3 separate regions of the Homo sapiens genome follow, and all the other regions are linked to region 1. Evidence: promoter capture Hi-C in human tissues and cell types (Jung and others, 2019). All regions are on one chromosome and are shown on one strand. The core of a region is centred on a gene start or on the middle of the fragment in contact, and the rest is flanking DNA. Distances in the headings are between cores, read along the strand shown.

Region 1 (4,992 bases), core at 1,487-3,986:
GTTTCCCCAAGGAAAAGCATGGCAGCAATTCACTCCCACCCCTCCACACCCCGCCTTACCTTGAAGTAGCTTTTCCCCTTCTAGAATATTTTGGGAGATTAATGCCGTGTAATCATCTTCAGAGAACCCAGCCTTGCAGGTCTCTCTAGTTGTAAGATCCTCATTATGGGCCTGAGAACACAAAGGGGAGAGTGTAAAACAATAAGTTCACAGAAATTTAATCCAACCAACATTCATCCAGGGCCTGCTGTGTAAAAGGTCTCTGGCTAAGAGAGAAAGGCTGGCAGGCCACCGTCTCCACCCAGACGCGATACCCCGTCTGCTCCTCTGCTCTCTGGGGACTTTAGGGAGCACTCTCCAGGCTACAGACCAGGAGCATCCTTCCCCAGCCCCACACACAGCAGGCAGGGAGTGAAGGACGGACTGTTGGGGAAGCCAGGCCGGCCAGGGCCTTATTGGCAGAGGAGACGCCTGAGAAATGACCAAAAGGCAGAGACAGAAGACTTCAGCCGCTGCTCCCGAAGCCACTAAGGGCAGGGAGGCCAAAGTGTGGGCGGCTCTGCTCAGACCATTCGCGCTTTAGGCCCACCGCTCTGCGCTCTTGGTAAGGCGGAGGAGGCAGCTTCTTGTCTCCTCTCCAGGTCACCGGGAGGGAGGAGAAAGAGGAGAGAAAGGAAGAAGATTCTCTAGGACTAGGTCCGGAGCCGGTCGAAGAAGGCAGCTCTGCGGGAGGCTGCCGGTGGCTGGGGTGAGGAGGCAGTGGGGGCGCTTCCACCTTCTAGTCTTCAGCCCGCATTTTCACCCTCGGAGCCCCCATCTCCAGCCCAGGCAGGGAGACGGCTCCCCTAACTGACCGGAAAGGGGGTCTCCTCCTGTCCTCCGGAGCTCGCTCGCCTTTCCTGCTCAGTGGGGAAGTCTAGAGCCCATGGCACAGGGCCAGGGAAGGATGGGGTGGACGACAGGGCCCTCCGACCAAGCTTCTGGGAGGGGGCGTGACAGGCAGGAGGAGGTGGTGGAGGGAGAGGCAGTGTGTGCAAGCGGGAAGCCAGCCCCGCTGAAGGAGCAGGAGCACAGCGGTGCTTGGCTCCCCGGCGAGCGCAGGAAGCCTCGGGTGCAGCCCGCACCGGGCAGTGGCGCCTCCCGCCCGCCGCCTCCTCCAGCTCCGCGCGCTGCCGTCGCCCGCCCATGCTTCGACTCCGGAGGCCGCCCCCAGCCCGGAGCTCCAGGCTTCCCGACGCCGGCACCGCGGAGGGCGCCCCTCTACCCCCAGCACCGAGGGAGGAGAGCGGGACGCAGGGTCATTCCTTACGAAAAGCTCTAAACCGCGGCTTTCTTCATCGGCCACGAAGCTCCAAATCGCACCCGCAGCCCGGTGGGAGGCTCAACTCGCCCAGGAAAGTTTCCGCCCGCCCGAAGCGTGTGCCCAGCGCGTCCCCCAGCGCCCCGCGGCCTCGGAGCGGGCCTCCCGCCGCTGGCACTTGTTTATTTCCGAGGTTACAACAGCGCTGCCCGGGAGAAGGCAGCGAGGCCGATCGGCCACGAGAGGGGGTTCCTGCAACTCCCGCCGCCCCTCCGCCTCCGCCCAGGGGCGCCCCCGGAGCCGCCGCGCTCTCTGCCCCCGCGGGCCGCGCACCTCGCCAGGCGCAGAGCAAAGCTGGCAATCCGGCCCGCGGGGCTCTGCAGAGGCAGCGGGAGACCCGCTCGCCCTCCCGGGGCGCCCTCCCGCGCCGCGCCCGCCCGGCGTCCGGCTTCCCGGCCCAAGCCCGGCCCAGCTCCCAGCCCCCGGGGCCCCGCCGGACACGCAGGCTCCAGCCCCGCCGAGGGCTCGGGGGTGAGAGTGCCCCGCAGTCCTACCCCGCCGCCCACCCGCAGCGCGGGTCCTGCCGGCACCCACAGAACTGAGCGGCGCCGCTAGACGGACCCCCAGGCCTTGGGCAGGAGAGGTCGGGCAGGCGCCCCGCACTCGCGGATCCCTGGCCCGCAGCCGCCGGGCGCCCCACGCCTTCAGCCACGGCCGGGGCTGGGCTCGGCAACTCCCGCGGCGCGCGGCTCCCGGGCGATGGAGGGCGCGCCGGCTCCGCCAGTGGAAGCCTGCCCCATGCAGGCAAGCCGAGCTCCGGGTAGCGGCTACGGGCTTTGGGCGTTCGAGGGAGGCTCGGCGGGTCCGGTGCAGGCGGAGCTCCCCGGGTCCTCCACCGAGCCCCACTCCCACCCTGCTCCGCCGCTCCCCGCTGCCCAGGCGGCTTCCCGCTCCTGCCGACCGCAGGCAGCTTCGCCGAGCGCGGGCGCCGGGCTGGATGCAGCGGGGAGCGCGGCGGGGGAGCCCGGGAGAGCCCCGCCGGGTGTGTGAGCGCCCCGCGGGATCCGGGGACGACCTCCCGCTGCCCGGGGCTTCCGAACGGCGGGGGCGGGAGGCGGCAACTTACCCGGAGCGCGCCGGAGAGCGAGAGCAGCAGAAGGAGCACGCCGGCGCCCGCGGTCATCTTCCCCGCCGCCCGCCCGGTGCCCGGCACCGGGAGCCCGCTCCCTGCCGCCGCCGCCGCCGCCGCCGCCGAGACCACCGCCGCCGCTCCGATCGCCGCCGCCGCCGCCGCTCCCCCGCGCCTGCCCGGAGCCTCCAGCCCCGCTGCGCCCGCCGCGCTCGCCGCCCCGGCTCCGGGAGCCAGGCCAAGTCCGGCCGGCGGCGCGTTCCCTCGGGCCGGTGCGTCCGCCGGCCTCGCAGCCGCCCGCGCCTCTGTTCCGCGCGCTCGGAGCTGCAGGTGAAGCCGCGGCCGCCCCGCCGAGGCCCCGCCCCGCCGCCCGGCCCCTGCGCTCGCTCTGCCGACGCGGGCCTTAAAGGCGCAGAGCCCGCGCCCGCGCCCCCCGCGCCGCACCAGCCCAGCCTCTGCCCTCCTGGACGTCTGGAGCCGCCCGGTTGCGGCCGAAGAGGCCAAGGACGCTCGTTTTCCAGGGGAAAAAGGCGCGGGTGTGGAGACTGAAGACAGCGCTGGGGTTTCCGCCCCCACACCCGGGGCACCCTTTCTGGATGGGGCGGTCCCGCCGCGGTCTTAGTCCGACTTCCCGCCCGGGCCCGCGGTGGGAGTGTGCACTTCCATTCTGTCCTTTTATTTTTCAGGTGTCTCCTTGCTAACTCCCCTGACCCGGGCTTGAACCCAGGTCGGGCAGCTCAGGGGTGAGAGTTTCCACCTGGAGCAGATGAGCAGAGGGCCACGCTGAGATTTCAGCCTGTGGGGCTTTGCAGACCCTCCCGCTCCTAGGAAAACTCAAAGCCCTGGCCTGGGCTAGGGATGTACCCTAGGATTGGGGACGGTAGTAATTCCTGTGTGTGCATCAAAACACCCTGTTAGGCCTCAGAAGCCAAGAAAGAAATTAGAAGCTCCAAGAAAGAAAGAAGTGCCCAGACAGGAGCTGTCAGGAGTGTCTGCGCCGACAGGCTGGGCCAGCTCCAGCTCCCTTTGCCCTGCATGGGTGATGGCTGAACTGGGGGGCACTTCTTTAAGGGTTATCAGGTAAAATATATGTACAGGTCGGACAGTGAGTAAATGTTTCTGCACTTTTCCTTTTGGCTTGGAGATTTAAAGAAACGCGGTTTTGTTTGTTCAGATACATCGAATTTTCTTTGTCTGGGGTTTCAGGGACTCTGTGTCCAGAATACATTAGTTCTGGTTTAAGAAATAGGTTGCAAAGGAGAGGGTGGAAGATTGAGTGACACTGTTGAGCTCCAAGATCAGAGTCCACTTGGGCAAGCCAGTAGAGAAAGCTACAGAGCAGCCGCTTCCCTCTCTCCCTCCCAGAACCCCCACCCTTGGGGGCAGGGTGGTCTCCCGGTTAGAGCTCTGCCTTACGCTTAAGGAAACCAGATTTTAGATAACCCCAGAGGACCAGAGTAAGCACTACATCCGAGAGCACAAGGCGAGATTCGGTTTTGCAACTTAACTATGGAACTAGTCAGGAGACACAAAATCTGCCCCAGCCTGGACTCCTATCAGTTATGGCCTTGTCCCACTCCCCACCTAGCCGAAGAAGGAGAGGTTACCAGTTGACATGGCTGGAGGTTTAGACTCACTCGAAGGTCCTGCGTAGCCAGTGAGGTTTCATGAACAGATCCATCCAAAATCCTCATGGACAGAGAATTCCATTCCTCGGCCATGTGCCCGTCCTTTGGGAAGACGCCCCCTCTGCTTTCCTCCTTATTCAAGGTGCTTCACCACTGCTCGAGCGACATCAGAAGCTGTCCAAGACTGCTTTAGACACCAAGACAGCTCTCTTGTCTTGTGTCCCTGGTCTATTTTCTTAAAATATCTGTCGCTGGGGATACACCTTTGTCTGCAGGAGGCCTGAGCATTATGCGAGTTATTTCTTTGGAGAGGCATCACAGACCCCCGCATTTGCTCCAACGTGCTCTGCGAAACTGTTGAAGCGCTGAGGAGCGCGCCAATTTGAAAAAGAAAAGGTATGAGTGTGTGGCAGGGAGACTGGGGTCCAGGAGCAGGTGGGTCCTGAACTCCAAACACTGTGTTAAGCACATCTCCCTCTACTACTGAATGAATCTTGAGTCTACTGCAGCGTGATTTCCAGAAAGGGTAGAGTTTGACAATAGCCTGTCCTTACAAGGTGCTAGCTATGTGCCAGGGACATGTGTAGGAGCTTTATGTAAAGTTGCTCTTGGAGTCCTTCTAACTCCACTATACAGTCAGGCAGAGGAGGGTGCAGAGGGCAGGCACGGGGAAAGCTGCAGTGCCAGCATTCTCACCCAGAGCTGGGACCCTGGCACACGCAGCATGGCCCCAACTTTGTTCAAAGAAACCTTCTTACACAGCTGTAATGTCTTACGGGAACTCGCATTTTCCGAAATACATAGTTTCAGAAACACTGCAGTAACTGACAGGAGTCCAGTAGAGAGCATTGGTTTATCAGACTTACTCTGAATGCAGCAGCAAAGATTGCTGAGACAGAAAAGAAAAATATGACCTAAAATACAAAGCAGTGCCT
Region 2 (4,992 bases), core at 1,608-4,107, 390 kb after region 1:
GTTGGTTTCTCCTGGGATGTCTCTCTGTGGCCTGAGGGTAGCTACCTTCTTGCCGAGTTCTCATAGGTCTCTCCTCTGTGTGACCATCCCCTGTGTCTCCCTGTGAATCCCAATTTCCTCCTTTTATTTTAATTATTCATTTATTTTGATACAGAGTTTCACTCTTGTTGCCCAGGTTGAAGTGCAATGGTACAGTCTCAGCTCACTGCAACCTCCACCTCCCAGGTTCAAGCAATTCTCCTGCCTCAGCCTCCCCAGTAGCTGGGATTACAGATGCTTGCCACCACGCCCAGCTAATTTTTGTACTTTCAGTAGAGACAGGGTTTCACCATCTTAGCCAGGCTGGTCTTGAATTCCTGACCTCAGGTGATCCACCTGCCTTGGCCTCCCAAAGTGCTGGGATTACAGGCGTGAGCCACCGTGCTCAGCCCCGATTCCCTCTTTTTATAAGCACAATAGTCATAGGGGATTAGGGCCCACCCTAAAGGCCTCCTTTAGACCTAATCATTTCTTTCAAGGCTGTCTCCAATGCAGTCACGTTCTGAGGCAATGGGGTTTAAGACCTCAACATATGAATTTGGAGGAGACATAGTTCAGCTCATAGCAAAAGGTCAGAGCTGAGGCAACAAACGGCAAGATGGCCATTTTTTACTCAAAATCTCTTACTGCCCAAGAACGTGCTTGATGCTGTCCTAGAATGAGAGCACCACGGGGCCTCAGGAACTGACTCTGCAGGTGGAGAGATGCTTCAGGTACCCTGAGGATGCAAGGTGTTCCATGGCCAGCATGCAGAGAGCCTAGAGGAGGGGCTGGTGGGCTTTGGGGTCTTTGGGCTTCAGCCTCACTAATGCTCATAGTAAACAGAGGTGCAGTTGAGACTGTTTCTCCTGTAACTGATTTCCCATGAGCACCCCCCCTCCTTTCTCTCTGTCACTATGTGATGGAGACCCCTGCACCCTGAGCGTCTGTAGCCTGCAGCCCACGCACCATTTCCCAGGCTGATTCCTCCGGCAACAGTGTCTGATCTCCTTAATGACATTCAGTTGTGTTTCTTCCTAAATCAATTTATTTAATTGTATATCACATCATAATTATGTAATTTGACTAAATACTGTATAAACCAATGAAATGGGAATGCAAAAAGAGAGTTCCTTTTGTGAAAGCTCAGTTAAACATTTCAGAAAGTGAATCACCAAAGAGTAAGTGCTGTCAAGTCAGGTGTGGAAGCAAAAGCTGTGAGTGGAGGACACACCATTAAGGACAGTGACAGAGTTTGGGTATTTGACCCCACCCAAATCTCACGTTAAAATGTAATCCATGGCCAGGCGATGAGGCTCATGCCTGTAATCCCAGCACTTTGGGAGGCTGAGGCAGGTGGATCACAAGTTGAGGAGTTCAAGACCAGCCTGGCCAACATGGCGAAACTCCATCTCTACTAAAAATACAAAAATTAGCCGGGCAGTCTTGGTGGGCACCTGTAATCCCAGCTACTCAGGAGGCACTTCTCCCATCACCTCCAGATGGGACTGTCTAGTTGCAGGAAAACAAGTGCAGAGCTCCCACTGACTCTACATGATGGCGAGTTGTGTTATTATTTCATTATATATTACAATGTAATAATAATAGAAATAAAGTGCACAATAAATGTAATGTGCTTGAATCATCCCGAAACCACCCCCCTCCCTGGTCCATGGAAAAAATGGTCTTCCACGAAACTGCTTCCTGGCTCCAAAAAAGGTTGGAGGCCCCTGCTCTAGGTCATTCCCATATGGCTTCAAGTTATTGCTTGTGTATAAAGACACTGGAACTGTGACATAGTGACAATGCATTATGATTGGTGACAGGAGGATGAAAAAACACACTCAAGAACTGTAATCAGAGGTGCGGTACTTAAGGTAAGACTTTGGGATCATTTCAAAATATTGGAAAATATGTGCATTTTCACGTTTGAAATATTTAGATTATATGCGTAACTTCATGATTTCTCATCTTGACTGATTTTTCAACTAAGCTACTGGCAACTGTTTCCTATAGAGTCAGGTAAGAGGGCTGGTGCTGGATAATGCCTCCTTCTCTGAGCTTTAGGGAGAATAACATAAGGCAATGCAGGGGAAATTACTAGCCCAGCCCTTGGTGGGTATGAGCACTTCCGAAACTGCTCTGACGACGATGTTGCTGTTACCTTTGTGTTCATGGCGAGCTCCTTCGCGACCTTTTTGGAAGGGGCATGACTCCCTTGGAGGGATGCCCTAGCTGCAGGGTTGCTGGCCATTTGGTAAATAAGAGCAGCCTCCTTGTCTGAACTCAGACATGTCATTCCTGGTCAATTTCTTCCTGATAGTGGTACAATAGAGGTCCACACACATTCTGCTTATAACAGAAAATGTACACCTCATAAAGTTAAAAGCTTAACACCAAATAAAAAGTAAAACCTAAGTAGAAAAAGAGGAGAAAAAGGCACACAGCTGACTGAATAAAGTGATGAATTGTGTGACATGCACTGTGAGCTTTCAGAGAGGAAGTTGGGCATTTTTTTCCCCCAAGAGAGTTTGTTTTTATGTACTTTCTTCTTAGAAGCAAAGAAACCTGGAGCCACATCTTTTCTTTTTTTATTTTATTTTATTTTATTATTATTATACTTTAAGTTTTAGCGTACATGTGCACAATGTGCAGGTTAGTTACATATGTATACATGTGCCATGCTGGTGTGCTGCACCCATTAACTCGTCATTTAGCATTAGTTATATATCCTAAAGCTATCACTCCCCCCTCCCCTCACTCCACAACAGTCCCCAGAGTGTGATGTTCCCCTTCCTGTGTCCATGTGTTCTCATTGTTCAATTCCCACCTATGAGTGAGAATATGCGGTGTTTGGTTTTTTGTCCTTGCGATAGTTTACTGAGAAGGATGATTTGCAGTTTCATCCATGTCCCTCCAAAGACGTGAACTCATCATTTTTTATGGCTGCATAGTATTCCATGGTGTATATGTGCCACATTTTCTTAATCCAGTCTATCATTGTTGGACATTTGGGTTGGTTCCAAGTCTTTGCTATTGTGAATAATGCTGCAATAAACATATGTGTGCATGTGTCTTTATAGCAGCATGATTTATAGTCCTTTGGGTATATAGCCAGTAATGGGATGGCTGGGTCAAATGGTATTTCTAGTTCTAGATCCCTGAGGAATCGCCACACTGACTTCCACAAGGGTTGAACTAGTTTACATCTTTTCATGCGGACATTTACATCATAATCACTCTGAGTTTCTTGCTAGGATAGATTGTGTCCACTGCCACACCTCTAAAGAGGACGGATTTGGGAGGGAGTGGTCCTGGAACATACTTGCATAGAATGCTCCAGTAAGTATGTTCACTCTGTGTCATATAAACTCACCAAAGGCACGGTTACAGGACCTCCAGGTTCCTGGGCCTCCTGTGAACTAACAGACCAATCCACCAAGGCAGCAAGGTTTACAGCAAAGAAAGAGATTAATGATCACATGACAGCCGAGGGAGGAGACAGGAGGGAACCTCAAGTCTGTCCCCCCGAGGGGCTTTAGGCTGAAAGTTTTCAGGGAATCATGGAGGGTGAGAGGCAGGAAAATTGGGACCATTGATTGGTTGGAGTCCAGGGTATGAAATCATCAGGATGTGGAAACTGCATTCATTCTTCCATGAGTCAGATTCCTGTGGGGCCCTTCAGGCCAGCTGACATCAGTCATTTCACTGATGCAGGAAATGAAAGAAGACCTCAAATGGAAAATGGAACATTTCACCATGCTTACGTTGTTATCTACAGAGCAGGATCTCTGTGATTCTGGGGCAACAGGTAGCAAACGACGATGGGGCAGTGGTCAGAGAGTGAGCTGTCCTAATAACGAATGCTGAGTGTGCTACAAGCTTCGTTTGTGTTAATTTCCCCCCTCCCTTCTGCCCTGATTAATTTTATAGTTTATGGAGATGGCTTCAGCACCTGCCCCTGCAAGGCCATCTTGATGTCAGTCAACTGGACACTAGAATCCTCTGTTTGGAAGGGGGCAGATCAGTCTTTCTTCCTCTTGTTTCCCTGGACCTGAGGTGAGATCTCAGAGTTCTGGCTTCACAGGAGAATAAAGAAAATGTCATTCTTCCAATCTAGGCCTGTCACCTGCAGATGATGGGGGCTTTCCATTGGTGGAACTTTTTCTCTTTTTCATGTCCCAGCCTCTTCTTCAAAGTGACCACCTAGCTTGCAGCTTTGACTTTGAAAATGAAAGTGTGTCCCTGAGTCACACTGATATGTGCTGATATTTAAAAAAAAAAAAGATAAAAAATAAGAATAAAAAAACATAATACTCTTTGCAATATTTCACATTCAAGCTTTCTCAGAATTAATTTGAAAAAAAGAATCACCCAGTCTCTCACAACAATATTGCAGAAAACCCAAAGTGTTTCATTTCACGGTTAATTTATTTTGTAATTATAGATCTGTTGGTAAACAGTACAATAATATTTTTTTTCATTTCACTGATTTGTGCTGTTGATGCCCTGGATGCTTCACTGTGGTGTGATAGCTGTGCATGGAAGAAGCTGCCTAACCACATTAATTCAAATAAAATTATCTGCGCTTCACATGTACACGCAGACAGTGTTTATGCGTAATCAGAACTTCTAGGAAGGCTTTTTTTAAGAGGGAAGAAAATGCATATAATCTATTTTTATTTTTAATTAAAAATACAAGTTAAAAAGCAATATTAAATCTCTATACCTGATTTTAAGAAATTACATTAGCACAAATATTTTCATTTCCTATCTTGAGATTTATGTGCATATATATTTAAAAAGATAAATAAATAGCTATCAACATTTTTATCACAGCAGTTTATTTTTTAATAATATTTTTACAATCATGAGCGCCACTCAGATAATTGAACACAGAAAAGAACACACATACATACACAAGAAAAAAAAGAAAGAAAAGTACCCAACAACAGGTTAGCAATTCTTGTTCTC
Region 3 (4,992 bases), core at 636-3,135, 310 kb after region 1:
CAGTGTTCAAAAGTAGGATTTCAGAGAATCTGCTGCATCCACCTCCCATGAGGGTCCCAGGTGAAAGATGACAGAGAGTTGGAGATCCAGAAATGGCTCAGTGAGGAGCTAGTCTACAGGTCTCCAAACTGGTTTCTGTGGGACTTGGTGGTGACCCAGGATCTGACTGGAGCACCTTGGGAAGCCTGGGCAGGTAGACTTCCAAATCTTAATTAAAATCAGACCTGCTAGCTTTAAAAATATATTTTTTTTGGCTGGGCGTGGTGGCTTGCACCTGTAATCCCAGCACTTTGGGAAGCTGAGGCAGGCAGATCACGAGGTCAAGAGATTGAGACCATCCTGGCTAACATGGTGAAACCCCATCTCTACTGAAAATACAAAAATTAGCTGGGTGTGGTGGCGTGCACCTGTAGTCCCAGCTACTCGGGAGGCTGAGGCAGGAGAATCGCTTGAACCTGGGAGGTGGAAGTTGCAGCGAGCTGAGATCAAGCCACTTCACTCCAGCCTCGCTACAGAGCGAGACTCAAAAAAAAATATATATATATATTTTTTTTTCTAAGATATAATTTAGACACAGTTCAACTCAACCTTTTCAGTATGCAGTTCTGTGAGTCTTGACGAATGTGTACAGTCATGTAACTAGCACCACAATCAAGATACAGAACATTCCATCCCCCACCCAGCCCCTGGCAATCTCTGATCTAGTTTCTGTCTCTGTCATTTTGCCTTTTCCAAGATGTATGTCGTATACATTGAACCATACAGTATGCAGTGTTTTGGGGCTAGCTTCTTTCAAGTAGCGTAATTCACCTGAGATTCTTCCTTGATGAATCAAGAGTTCTTTCCTTTTATTTCTGACCTCTATTTTGGGCCACCATTTGTCTTTCAGTTCCCCAATTAAGAGACATTGGTATTGTCTCCAGTTTTTGGAGATGTTTAATAAAGCTGCCACAAACATTTACATGCAGCCTCTTGTGTGAACAGGGGTTTTTTAGTTTTACTCCAATAAAGTCTTAGGAATGTGGTCCTGAGTTACGGTAAGTTTAACTTTATAAGGAACTCTTAACTATCTTCCAGAGTGGCTGTGTCATGATATGTCACTCATCCCATCAGCAAGGAGTGAGGGCTCCTACTGCCCCTCATTCTCCCCAGCATTTGGTGTTACAGTGGGATTTTCTTTTAAATTTAACCATTCTAATAGTTGTAGTGGTATCTTATTGTGATTTTAATTTGCGTTTTCCTAGTGACTAATGATGTTGAGTATCTTTTCATATGTTTATTTTTCAATTGTACATATTCTTTGGTGAAGTGACCACTCAAACTTTTGTTTTTCTGGCTTTTATTTATCTTACATATTGAAGAGCATTCTAAGGTTTTATTGAGAGGAAAATAGACAGTATGAGAAAAATTACAAAGCCAATAAAACAGATCAGAGTACAGGTAGAAACATGACCTTGCAATGCTGCGTCTACCGCCTTCTCCAAAATTCCACACTGAGGAATATGTCCAGCTTATTTTGGGATAATAGCATTGGTATTGTTACAGGATCGTTGGGGTGTCGCTTTTCTGGGCAGAAATCTCTGTGGCCAGTGGCACCTTTTCCCGAGTTCTTGTCCTGCGTTCAGGAAGAATGAGGTATGCAGACAAGTGGAGGGTGAGCAAGACAGAGAAGCTTATTGAGTGTTAGAACAGCTCAGGGGAGACTTACAATGGGTAGCTCCTCTTTGTATGCAGGTCATCCCATCAAGTGTTCAGCTCGCAGCAGAGACTCTGGAGAGGGTGGCTCTTCTCCACCATCAGGTTGTCCCCATCATCTCTGCAGCCATCATCTGCAGTGGTCTTCCCACTCCTGTCTGCTGCTGGTCATCCTGTCATCTCTCCATTCTCTGCCTGCTCTGGTAAAGCCCAGGGCTTCTATGGACCACAGAGGGGAGAAAGTGTGTGCCAGCCGGCTCATGGGCAGCCATGGGAGGACACAGAAAAGGCACCACAAGTCTTCATTCCAGTCCATGGGATTGGCTTTACCAGGGACCCATCCCCTTCTGCCCAGGAACCTATCTGCCTTCTGCTGCCATTCATGATGCCCAGGTTTTGCCCCAACTTTTCTGAGATTGGAGCAGACACCAACAGCAGAAAGCAGCCAGGCAGTGGGAGCAGGCACTTCTGAGCCTGCAAGGGCAGGGGGCCTTCCCAGGCCAATGGGGCAGTGGCCTGGGTCTGCAGGCAGTTTGGGCAGCTGCAGCGGCACCCAGGGAGCTCCCACCCCAACTCAGAAGGGATGGGGCTCCCGCTGGCTCCATGGGGCGTGCAGCCCAGGCAATGCCTCCCTGCTGCAGCCAACGTGATGGCAGTGACAGGCTGTCTGGAGCAGCAGCTGCCATCAGTATGGCAGGCACCCCCCAGAACAAAGGCCACAATGCTGGTCACTTTCAACTCCATTCTCCACGCTATACTTAAAGAAAGCAATTGGTAACTGATCATTGCTGTTTTGCAGAAGACCATAGAGCTTTAATCATGCCAATTGACTTCATATTATTTAAGTTACAAATAATGAACAACTGATGTTAGTTACTTAATAAACACTTGTTGAATACATATAAAATGCAGTCCATGCTCACTGGTTTTGGGAAACCAAAATCTATGTATTGAAAGAGAGAATTAGGCCAGGCACGGTGGCTCATGCCTATAATCCCAGCACTTTGGGAGGTTAAGGTGAGTGGATCACTTGAGGTCAGGAGTTGGAGACCAGCCTGACCAACATAGTGAAACCCCGTTTCTACTAAAAATACAAAAATTAGCCAGGCATGGTGGGGTGTGCCTGTAATCCCAGCTACTCAGGAGGCTGAGGCAGAAGAATTGCTTGAACCTGGGAGGCCAATGTTGCAGTGAGCCAAGATCACGCCACTGCACTCCAGCCTGGGCAACAGAGCAAGACTTCATCTCAAAAGAAAAAAAAAAAAGAGAGAGAGAGAGAGAGAATTAAAAACAAACGTTGACACTTACTATTGAAAATGGGCACTAAGAAGTTTGATAGGATGCAAGTTTACAGAGGTTACAAGGTTCTACTTGGGAGAAGAAGGGTTTGAGTTGGACGCAGAAAGATGAATAGAAATACGACTAGTAGAGAAGACAGTGAAAGAGAACCCAAGCTGAGAAAGAGATGTCTGAAAGATGATGGGTTGTGCAGTGTGGAGCAGGGGAGACCATGCTCTTCAGAGCAGAGGCCGAGACTGAGAGCAGTGTGATGATGTCAGTAGTGGGAGCTGAAGTTAGAAAGCCAAGCAAAGGAGAGTCCCACGATAGAGGGGCACTGTATTGTGAATAGGGGCTGCTTTTGGTTTGACCAGGTTCTATACTTTCTATGGTCTGCACCTGTTTTGGCAAAAGACTGGGATCACTGGGGTCAGCTTGGCAAATACTCCTGGTACATAAAATGCTCACCTGTCAGCTTTTGTTAATAGGAAGACCTCATGCCAACCAGAAATTTTCCTTTATTTATTTATTAGTTTATTTATTTATTTATTTTGATACACAGTTTCCCTCTGTTACTTAGGCTGGAGTGCAATGGGACCATCTCGCCTCACTGCAACCTTCACTTCCCAGCTGCAAGCCATACTTGTGCCTCAGCCTTCAGAGTAGCTGGGATTACAGGCATGCGCCACCATGCATGGCTAATTTTTGCATTTTTAGTAGAGATGGGGTTTCGCCATGTTGTCCAGGCTGATCCCAAACTTCTGACCTCAAGTGATCCATCCACCTTGGCCTCCCAAAGTGCTGGGATTACAGATATGAGCCACTGTGCCCGGCCTCAACCAGAAATTTCTAAGAATTTATCAGAAAAATCAGCTCAAACTAAGAATTTTGAGATGTTGGGCAAGAAAAGAAAAATTCTCAGGCTTAGCTAATGAAGAGGATGAACATGGAACTCTCGTTAACTGACCTAATTACTGTACAAATTTTCCTAATTGTATACCTTAAGAACTACATGCCAGTGTCTGCAGTTAAACCATTTTTGCTTTAGATTTTTTGAATACTTCTCAAGTTCCTTAAATATCTCCACTTAAGTTTCTTTTATTGAACAAGCAACCCATATGTGCATTGATTAGACTGCAACAGAAACAGACCCTCTTTCAGCTGGTTGGGGAAACTAAATCTATTTGCCAAGACTAAATCCATGGTCTGTCCAATGACCAAGTCCCCCAGGAGTTTCTCTGTGTGGGCCGACATGAGACAAGTCTATGGCTGGGTTTTTATCTCTTAAAGCCAAGATGTCATTTATGGGCTGTACAGCTGAGAAACATGCAACAACAGGGCCATGAACAAAAAGCACAACATTGGTCTCTTGCTCTACAAGAAGACTTCTGGAGCACCTCTCTCATCCTGTGGTTCATGCCCTACCACCGCTGCCCTACCCTGCAGTCACAGCGATATGTGCCTTCTGCCTCCAAAGCTCCTGTGTGCTCTTGGTTTCTGGCCTCTATTCATACACCTGGCTGCTACTCTGATATTACTATGAAAGCTTTGCTTAGTTGTGTCTGTAGAGGTGTACGGAAGGGACATTCCCAGATCACTTTAGTGGCACTGGGTTACAAGGATAGTCTTGTAGTTGCATGATTAATCTGTGTTTCAGAAATTCAAAAACTGAGACTTACAGCAGCCCCATTGCAAATCAGAAGATTAGAGTACAGTTGCTAGGAGTAGGTGTGGAGCCCCCAAAGCTTGTCCTCTTGGGAACACCTAGCCTTTAAACTTCCAAAGGAATATCCAATTAATAGATGAGTCACCATCCATGTGGCCTTCTCTATTTGTGCAGAGGCCACTTCAGAGCTTCCCCACTTCCAGCCCTTAGAGGATGAACTTCATCTCAGGCAGTGGTCTTGATGCAGGACAGGGGAGCTCCAAAGTGTGGCTTAGCCCAGGAGGGTTTTGGCTTTGTCCGGAAAAGAATTCAAGGATAAGCCAGGTAGAAGAAAACAGCTTTATTGAGGTGCG

What was found. Contacts are between HindIII fragments. The study calls those that stand out against the background at their distance.
Region 2: a contact is called between a fragment that was not itself captured here and the fragment with the promoter of CDH4 in region 1, in 2 of the 25 tissues and cell types used here (H1 embryonic stem cells and dorsolateral prefrontal cortex).
Region 3: a contact is called between a fragment that was not itself captured here and the fragment with the promoter of CDH4 in region 1, in 2 of the 25 tissues and cell types used here (H1 embryonic stem cells and spleen).

What each region holds. Positions count from the first base shown.
Region 1 is chr20:61,250,005-61,254,996 of GRCh38, reverse strand. CDH4 (cadherin 4) reads right to left here and starts at 2,736. Exons shown (of 16, transcript NM_001794.5): 1 at 2,427-2,736; 2 at 60-171. The coding sequence starts at 2,483. RefSeq lists an enhancer at 1-632. The HindIII fragment of the contact is 10,940 bases long and covers 1-4,992 here.
Region 2 is chr20:60,856,596-60,861,587 of GRCh38, reverse strand. No RefSeq gene overlaps it. Among named protein-coding and RNA genes, the nearest start is that of LINC01718, 220 kb to the left of the region's middle. The HindIII fragment of the contact is 6,282 bases long and covers 1-4,992 here.
Region 3 is chr20:60,942,833-60,947,824 of GRCh38, reverse strand. No RefSeq gene overlaps it. Among named protein-coding and RNA genes, the nearest start is that of LINC01718, 130 kb to the left of the region's middle. The HindIII fragment of the contact is 6,910 bases long and covers 1-4,992 here.